2 separate regions of the Homo sapiens genome follow, and region 2 is linked to region 1. The links are contacts of gene promoters, found by promoter capture Hi-C in human tissues and cell types (Jung and others, 2019). All regions are on one chromosome and are shown on one strand. Each heading gives the region's core, a stretch centred on a gene start or on the middle of the fragment in contact. The rest is flanking DNA. Distances are from core to core; before and after follow the strand shown. Region 1 holds the start of MRPS28 (mitochondrial ribosomal protein S28). Region 2 has its middle 39 kb from the start of LINC02986.

Region 1 (4,994 bases), core at 9-2,508:
TGAAAAAAAGTGGAAGTAGCACTATCCGTAGAAAATAATGTTCTAGGCAAGAGTCCATTAATAGTCTCGGGAGATAAACAGTTTTAACTGCCAAGAGGGAGAACTCACCTGGAGAATTTAATGAATTTGTAAGGACTACCATACAGTTAGCTAGTAATAATTTTATGTGATTCATACAATTGTGCACCATTCTGAGATCAGTGTACTTCGTGTTCTTAACACTATCTGTACCATTAGAGAGCATCAGAAAAGCTTAAAACCCATAGTCAAGGCATTCTTAAAATAGGGTCTGTGATCATAAAAATTCTTTCTCTCGAAGTACTTGCAAATGAACTGGAAAGGTGTGTGCCCCCAAAATAAAACTAACTGTGGATTAATATTAAACTGCTGGGTCAAAGATAGACGGACAACTAATTAATAAACACTTAAGAATGATGTTAGGCTGTTTTGAACAGGGTGGGTAAATTTTGGGAATTAACACTGCAGGAGAAAAGGGAAAGAAAATCCAGAGTGAGGGTGGGGGCCTACGGCGGTGCAATACTTAGGGACATTCCAAAACTTCTGAACTCCTAAGTTAGATAATAGGTATCTAGAGGTGTCAAAACATTTCAGAAAAACTATTTTTGTGGCGTGAGTGGACTGGCTGCAGAAGTGGCAAAGGACAAACTTGGATGCAGGGTTTGGCAAATGTTGGGTGAGCCCTAATCTGTGCCTGGTGCTAGGGACCCTACAGCAAAGTTCCTCTTTTCAAAGTTTAAAAAGTTGGGAGTAGACACTAAATATTATTAAATATTTAATATTAATATGTGGCATATTAGAAAGTGCTACATGGTACTAAGAAAAACAGGTGCCAGAGAGTCTGCATTTGGGCTTCCACTTCTAAATAGGGTAATCAAGGAGACCCTCATATTTGAGTGAAGACCCCAAACTCGAGTGCTGGCGGCCATGTAGGGGGGACGGCAGGGCGGGAGAACGAGCGTCGCGTTAGCAGAATTTACAGTACAATGGGGTCCAACGGATGCCCAGGAAGGCGAAATTCCTGCAAGTTAAACGCACTTCTAACGCAAAACTTAACCAGGCCCCTTTCCAACTATTTAGCCCACCAATTTTAGCTTAAGTCTCTTCTTCCCCACGCCACTCCCAGATGAAAGGAAGACACGCCTCGTTGGCCTCCAGAGCTCTGCGTCCGGGGGGCGGACCTCTCATAGCTCCGCCCCGTGACCCGCGCGCTTGCGGAGGGGAGGTCAAAGGTCAGAGGTAAAGAAGTCATGGCGGCGCTGTGTCGGACCCGTGCTGTGGCTGCCGAGAGCCATTTTCTGCGAGTGTTTCTCTTCTTCAGGCCCTTTCGGGGTGTAGGCACTGAGAGTGGATCCGAAAGTGGTAGTTCCAATGCCAAGGAGCCTAAGACGCGCGCAGGCGGTTTCGCGAGCGCGTTGGAGCGGCACTCGGAGCTTCTACAGAAGGTGGAGCCCCTACAGAAGGTGGAGCCCGGGCGGGTGAGAGGGAGTCGCGGGAATTACGCCAACGACGCGGTGGGCGGGGTCGGGAATAGGGGCGGAGCCTGGCTTAGGAAGGGGAGCTGAGGTCCGGGGCCCAGTTTTCCGGAGTTGCGGTGCGTTGTGGCTCAGCCCTCGGCCCCTAGAATCTGTGCTTGGTGTTTTTCTTCCTTTCGTTGTCCTTTTGTGTGGCATTTGCGTACTGGGCCGGGTCTGTCCACACTGCGCTTGTTTTCCTGGGATTGAATGCTGGTGGGAAGGTAACCAGCGGGGAGCGCTGCTGGGGAGGCGATCTAGGGCGATTCCTGGGACGCTAAGGAGAATGGGACTCACACGGAGAGGCAGGGCTCTGCTGGGTCTTGTTCTGAACAGTAGCTCTAGCATGGAGCTTGCTGTCTGGAGTAGAAGGCCCTTCATAAACATTTGTTAATTTAATGACTGGGTGATGAATCACTTTCTGAACTTGGGCAAGTGATTTAACTTGTCAGCGCTTCACCTCTCTTTTGTAAATGTCTTCTTTTTTTAAAAAGTAAAGTAAAATCTCCGTTTGTCTCAGCCAGTACTTTTGTAAAATACCATAAATTTATAGATAAATGAAATGGAAGAAATAAAATTACAAGCCTAAGTTTTTAATAATTAAACTCAGCAGACATGAAATTGAATTATATACAAATAAACTCTCAATTTCTGTATTTTTCTTCCTAGGGAGTAGTACCAAACAGTTCACAAGACTGGCAGTGTCCTGGGTTATAGGGTCATTTTAGTAGCAATTACTGATGTCAAAATTTTTCTGAAATCCAAGGACTAGAAGAAGCCTGGTATATTAGTTTATTATTTTCTGTTGTAACAAATTACTACAAATTTAGTGGCGTAAAACACAGGAAATGTGTTGTTGTTAGGGTTGTGAGAAGTCAGACGGGATCTCACTGGTCTAAAATCAAGGTGTTGGTGAAGTTGTGTTCTTTTCCGTAGCTTCTAGGAGAATCTCTTCCTGGCCTGTCTTTTCTGCCTCTGTTTTCTACTTTTTTGTTTTTTGGATTTTTTTGTTTGTTTTGTTGTTTTTTGAGACAGGGTCTCGCTCTGTCACCCACGCTGGAGTGTGGTGGCATGATCTCAGTTCACTGCTAAACCCCCTGGGCTCAAGTGATCCTCCTGCTTCATAGCTGGGACCGCAGGTGTGCACCACCACTCTGGGCTAATTGTTTTTTCTGTTTTTTTTTGTAGAGATGGGGTTTTGCCATGTTGCCCAGGCTGGTCTTGAACTCCTGGGTTCAAGTGATCCTCCTGCGTTGGCCTCCCAAAGTGCTGGGATTACAGATGACAGATGTGAGCCACCTGGCCTGGCTGACCCCGCCCGGCCCCGCCCCCCCCGCCCGTCTTCTGCTTTTGAGATCCCTGTGATTACATTGGCCTCCCTAGATAATCTATTTTAAGATCAGCTGATTAGCAATCTTAATTCCACCTGCAAAGTTAATTCTCCTTTGCCACGGAAGGTAACATATTCACAAATTCTAGAGATTAGGATGTGGATGTCTTTGTAGGGGGAGGGGGCATTATTCTTTCTACCATATATGGAGAAGTCATAAAATACTAGCAGAATAGCGATGATTGACCTGAAGCCACCTAAGGGATGGATTTTAGATCCATCCTTAAGGTAAGGCCATAAGAGTTAAGTGCAGTAAGGTTGGAAACATAGAGTTCAGTGCTCCCTTCCAAATATATGTATAGGAAAGGAGTTTTTCTATTTCTTACCTAATATTTCTCACTCACGCTTCGCTCCCATTCATACCACATTCTAAGCCCCTTCGGAAACCCCCCAAAATAATTCTCAATTGCTGAGTTAACTGTGGTAAGAGTGAAAATTGTAGCATCACATGTATAGTAAGTTAAGTGTTTGAAACTAAAAATGTACTGTTTATTTAATGAAGGAAACAACCAAGGTGTTTTAGAGTCCCCAGAATTCCCTTTCCTTTCCTTTTCTCTTTCCTTTCCTTTCCAAGGCAGTTCTAATTGGGCTGTTCAGTTTTTCCAGGAGGAGGCTGGGGTGTTTCCTGGCAGTCCCAGCACATCCGTTAGATTTTCTCAGTCCAGCTCAGGCTCAGCAGCATCTCTGCACCCTGCGTGGTTGTTCTCCGTCTAACACAGTTTAGAAAACATTATTCTACTAGATGATGGGTAAATGTGTTTGGTTGTGATGTACAGTTCACCAATTTCTTATTCACAAGTCTTTGACATCTTGGTTTAATGGAAATAAAATTCCCTGGGGAGGAGGATATCAGGAGGCTGTGTTGTAGTCTCCGTTCAGCAAGTTCTTAGCTTTGAAGCATTTGAAGTTTACGTGAACCCCTTTACTCCTTCTTAATTGATACCACTGACTTCAGTTGCTCCCTGGTTCAGGTCATTACACACACTGTGGATCAAGTTATCTTCCTAAAGTTGGGCTCTATAATCAGACTTAATGAGGTTATTTACTTATTGCTCTCCTTGAGAATCTTCTAAACCTCCATTCACACTGCCTGCAAGATTAAATATACAATGGTGCATCTCTCTACTGTGGCTTCAGAGGCCTACTGCCATTCAAGACCCTGCTTGGGTTAAAAGCTTCGGCTCAGTTCAGGTTTCCAGTTTCTGCCATCTTTCAACTGAGTGACTTTGGGCAACTTACTTAGCCTATCTAAGTTTGCTGTCTTATCTCAAAGTGGAGATAATGCTTCAACTGGAGTTACTGGGAAGTTTATGTGAAATAATACATTTAACGTGCTCTCAGTACATTGACTGGTACAGAGTAAGCTTTATTCAGTGCATTTTAGCTTTTATGTGGCCCCAGCCGTTTCTTCTCCAGCCTTCTGCCTTCCTGAGAATAGTTTCACAGAGATGCTTCCACAATTACACAGTTCTTTGAAGTCCCATTGTTTTCTTAATAATGAACTTTAATTTATCAAACCGTGTAGATTCATCTCTTGTAACTGATGTACCGCTCTGGTGGGGGATGTTGACAGTGGGGGAAGCTATGTGTGTGTCAGCACAGGAGGGGTATGGGATATGTCTGTACTGTACTCTCAATTTTGCTGTAAACCTAAAAGTACTCTAAAAAATAATTTTTTTTCTTAATGAATGAATATAAAATGCTATTTAAAAACATAAGGCAGTATATGCTCTAACTAGAGGTTGAGCTGTGTCATTCAAAGAGACAATAAAATTAAGTTTTTCATGGCAAAAAGCCCAAAACCAAACAAAAAACACCAGAAAACAACCATGCACATGCCATTTTTTTTAATCCCAAATGTAAGGACATTCGTCATCACTAATATGTTAACTTGTGGTGCCAGAGTAACACATGACACATCAGAATAAAATTTTTACTAACTTTTTTCCCAGTAGAAAATGTTTCAGGAGGTCAGAGACCTTGTCTTTCTTATTCTGTTGTATTTCCAGTGCCTAGCACAGTCCTTGACCCATAGTGGGCACTCGGTAAATATTTGTCAAATGTGTGAATGA
Region 2 (4,651 bases), core at 1,446-3,945, 550 kb before region 1:
AGACCATCCTAGCTAACACAGTGAAACCCCATCTCTACTAAAAATATAAAAAATTAGCCGGGTGTGGTGGCGGGCGCTTGTAGTCCCAGCTACTCGGGAAGCTGAGGCAGGAGAATGGCGTGAACCCGGGAGGCGGAGCTTGCAGTGAGCCGAGATTGTGCCACTGCACTCCAGCCTGGGTGACAGAGTGAGACTCCGTCTCAAAAAAAAAAAAAAAAAAAAAAAAAAAAAAAGAAAAAGACCATCTTTCAAAGATTATTTTAAATTATTATAAAGGTAGGTAATGCTGTTGTTCTGGGGAGCTCCAATCCCTTCCCAAGTAAGCCAGTGTGGTGGTGAGAACCTGTAGTCCCAGCTACTCGGGAGGCTGAGGCATGAGGATCACTTGAGCCCAGGAATTCAAGGCTGTAAGGAGTTATGATCGTACCATTGCACTCCAGCCTGGGTGACAGAGTGAGACCCTGTCTAAAAACAAACAAAAAAAGCCTTTCCAAATTAACTACTCTACCCTCTGGTAATGTGAATGCAGGTTCCATAATAGTCCTTATATCCTCCTACCTAAAAATGGGGACTAAGAAGGTCCCAGCCCAGCTTCAATTTCCCATTTCCTACAAATCCTAAACATATATTATACTTTCCATCTTTGTTACAAAATGATAGCTTCTGTGGAAACAAAGTCACTAGTCCCAGAGCACAGTTCCAGAAAATTTTAGTGGCTAGAATTGTTTCCAATACAGTCTCAGTCAAAGATGATGAATGTATAAAGGTGCAGGAAAAAAATTCCTCTGGATCCCTTGTCTTCTAGGCAGTTACCTGTTGGTGGCTCCAGCGTACTGGGGGAAAGGTGCAAGAGTAGCTGCTGCTTTTCTTTTCTTTTCTTTTTTTTTTAATGCAAAAGCCCCCACCCCTTGCAGATCCAGAGCTTCTTGATGGAGGTATTTTCAAGGGCTTCTAAAACTACTGTCTTTTCAAATGTCCTCTTCCTTTGTCCTGTATGGATTTGAACAATTTAGATCATATTTCACAGAGTTGTGTGATCTTGGGAAAATCACTTAACTTCTCTGAGCCTCAAATTCTTCACTAATAAAATAAGAAAGTTACTCCCTGTTCTAACATGCTGCAATTTAAGTACACATGTTTAAGCTACTGATTCCAAACTAAACAAATGATAACTTTCAGCCTATTACAGGCTATCGTTCTGGACACAAACCAACTGAGTCAAAGTAGTTCAATAAAATGAATTAGATTAGATCTTTCATCATTTTTTTTAAGTCTTAGCAGTCCTCCTTAAACCGTTTTTATGTTCAGCCTCACAACTTTTACAAGCAACGACCAAGCTGTAAATAGTTAAGGATTTCAAAGCCCTCCTCAGACCCAAACAATTTGGCTTTTTAGACTTCTGAATAAAATGATAAGCTAAAAGGTCTGCAGGAGAGCATCAGAAGTCTTCAGCAGGCCTTTTCCCGTCTAGGCTCTTATTCGGTGACCGGGCTGATAAAATTTCCTCTGTGAACGCTTAATATCTTCAAGCCAGACCTAGTAGCTACTGGTTCCCAATCAATTGCTATTCACACTCACACATCTGCACAGATAAAGCCACTTTAAACATCATGCTGTGGGGTCCTGACATGATGACAGAGCCACCAGCTGTCGGGGCACTGCACTGAATTGGGGACACAAACCCCATTTTTCTATGTAAATTGGCCTGGACGCTGCTTCGGCCCCCAACAAAACGGATAGTCCTGTTAAATGGGGCCATCTGGCCGTCCCCCGGCCCCAGTGACACCTCCGGGATGGGGCGAGCGGGAGTGATCTTCGGGGGGCCAGGAAGGTAGCGCGGTAGAGCGCAGCTGTCACCCCGGCCCCAGGGGTCCTGCCCACAGAGGTTGGGGGCGAGCAGATTCGCGGTGGTCTTAAGCCTCGGGGCCCGGGACGCCTGAGGGTCTCACAGCGCACTCCCGGGGTGGGGGAGGGCGCGCTTTGTTCCTGGGCCCCAGTGGGGCGAGGCGCCCGAGCCTTGGGCAGAGTCCCTACTTCGTCCCCGGGGCCCCAGGGCAGCTCCCGCCTGGCCGCGAACAGCCGCGGGCGCCTCCATAGCAACAGCGTGGGAGCTCCGCAAACCGGGAAGAGGAGCGGGGGAGGAGGGGAAGAGGGGAGGAGGGGAGCAGAGGAGAAGGAGAACAGGGGAGGAAGGGCGAGGAGGAGGGGAGCAGGGAGAAGGGGAGCAGGGAGAAGGGGCGCAGGGGAGGAGCTGGGGCAGGAAGAAAGACCGGGGGCGGCGGCGTGGATGGGGGGCAGGGAGAAGGAGCGCCGGAGGGGGAGCGGGAGGAGCAGAGGCGGGGAGCGCCGGCGGGAGAGGGGAAGGAGTGGGGGAGCCAGAGCTGGGAGGAGCGCGGGACGGGGAGCCGGGTAGGAGCGGGGATGAGGGCGCGGCCCCGGGCGAACCAGTCCAGCCCTCCAGGGCCGGGTGCCCGGGCCAGATTCTCCAGCCGAATTCCTGCCCCAGCTGCCTGGGGGAGGGAGTCGCGGGAGCCGGAGAGGGCGGGGACCGCGGCAGGCCCGTGGGACACCGGGCCCTAGGAGGAGGCGCGGGGGTGCGGGCGGCCGGGAGGGGGCGAGGTCCTGCCGCCGCTGCAGCCCACCCCAGCCCGGGAAGAGCAGCGCCCCGGGAACGGGTCTAGGGCTCTCTCCCTTGGCGAGAGGAGCCCTCGGAAGCGGCACCCGCCTTCCCATCCTCACCCAGAGCAGCCCTCAGTCCCCCGGGGACGTGCAGGCCCTCGTCCCCACGGGCTGCGAGCCAGGCCCCCGGAGGGGAGGCGCCGGCCGCGGAGGGAATTCCGAGCTAAGGCTTGCTTTCGCCTGGAGTGTTTTCACCAGAGAATATTTTCCGTTACACAACTATTAGAAAGGTGATGTGGGTTTTCATTTTCAGTCCACCCCTCACCCCAAATCAGGGACCTCGTGGAGAAAACATATTACTAATGCTAAGCTTGGAATTTTAAACAATGTTTTCTGATAACCAGCTGAAAATTTTTGGGAGAAGCCGAGTCACAAACAGATCATCATTCTTAAGTACTGTTTGCTAAGCGTCAGCTTGCACAAGATATTTCACAAAGCTGGCGAACCGGACGCGATCCTTGCTCTCATAGAGTTTGCCACAGAAATGGACAACAATTACATTCAGAAAGGCATTTTTGAATAGCTCTTATGACGTGGTGTTAAAGGTGTGGAAAAAAAGCTTATTTCAGACATGAGTATTTCCAGAGAAAATCTATAGATAAGTGCTGTATATTTTATTTTAAAAACCATTATAAAAAGCAAAGAGAAAAAAAATAAACTTTTGGAAGTTCTCAGCTAACATGGCCTATGGGAAAATGAAAATAAACCTAATTGAAAAAACAGCGCTCACCATAAATAGGTTTAGCTTTCAGGCAGGGAACGTGGTTTGGAAAAAAAAAAAAAAAAAAAAACACCAGCAGAAAATTCACCAATCAAATGTAAGGTTGTCCATGTTTCCTAAAGCAAAGGTCAAAGAATCCTCGGAAGCCCTAAAAAACACTGTTTCTGTGGATAGAGCCTGAGCTTTTGTTTTGCTGTTTGTTCTGAAAATCCAAATCGGTAACCCCTGTTTTCAGGTATTATCCAAAGGAACATTTTTTGGTTTCTTCTACCCACATACTCCCAAATTAGGCACCTACCTTAAAGTAACAGGAAAACTCGTGGGTTTGTAATTGTGTGATATCCCATCTGGTTTCAACTCTGTCGCTGACCAAAAAGAAAGGATGAAAAATGTAAGCAAACTTCTGTAAACTGTAAGTTTATCTATAAAACTCTAAATGTTCACTTATTTTGACATAACATGCATGACTTCTAGAATTAGATTTCCAACTAGTTGATATGTAGCATTTTGTGAGGGTTCGCTGAATTCCAGGCACTATTCTAAGCAATTTATAGACATTTGCATTTTACTGAATTCTCTTAAACTTAGAAGACAGGTACTATTATTATTCCATTTGATAGATGAGGAAACTGAAGTTTCGAAAGGGCATAAAACCTGCCCAGATTTGCCCAATAGTAGTCAACAGGGTTGGGTTGAAGACCCCAAACCTACCATCTCTGAGCAGTTAGTTTGTTCCCTGACTACACATTCCACAAGAGCAGAACCTCCCTCAAATCTCATCTAGGATAATATGGACTATAACTGTGGGCAAAAAAAAAATACTTATGGATTAATTGAATTTCTCACTTTTGTCCAATTTTTCTGGCAGAAGACAGACATGTAAATTCAAGAATCATTATTTTTAAGTGTTCCTCAGCAGTTATCATCCAAGCCTTTTTCATTCAAGGAGTCGAAAACTGTGCAATAGCAATATTATAAAAAGACTTTGAAAGATAATCATTATATTGACTTTGATATAGCAAAATGGCAGAGATAAGAGTACATTTGTTTTAAGAAATTAAGCAAGTAGACCAGCCTGGCCAACATGGTGAAACCCCGTCTCTACTAAAAATACAAAAAATTAGCCAGGCATGGTGGTGGGCGACTGTAATCCCAGCTGGGAGGCTGAGGCACAAGAGTCGCTTGAACCCAGGAGGCGGAGATTGCAATGAGCCAAGATGATGCCACTGCACTCCAGCCTGGGCGACAGAG

Evidence for each region. Contacts are between HindIII fragments. The study calls those that stand out against the background at their distance.
Region 2: a fragment that was not itself captured here is called in contact with the fragment with the promoter of MRPS28 in region 1 in 1 of the 25 tissues and cell types used here (mesendoderm cells).

The regions. Positions count from the first base shown.
Region 1 is chr8:80,026,523-80,031,516 of GRCh38, reverse strand. It overlaps MRPS28 (mitochondrial ribosomal protein S28), which reads left to right and starts at 1,258. Exons shown (of 3, transcript NM_014018.3): 1 at 1,258-1,481. The coding sequence starts at 1,269. All of the region lies in intron 5 of TPD52-MRPS28 (TPD52-MRPS28 readthrough), which reads left to right. It also overlaps a transcript of TPD52 not described here. RefSeq lists an enhancer at 1,106-1,535 and a silencer at 4,829-4,994. The HindIII fragment of the contact is 9,025 bases long and covers 1-4,994 here.
Region 2 is chr8:80,576,215-80,580,865 of GRCh38, reverse strand. No RefSeq gene overlaps it. Among named protein-coding and RNA genes, the nearest start is that of LINC02986, 39 kb to the right of the region's middle. RefSeq lists a silencer at 2,562-2,631. The HindIII fragment of the contact is 3,245 bases long and covers 1,073-4,317 here.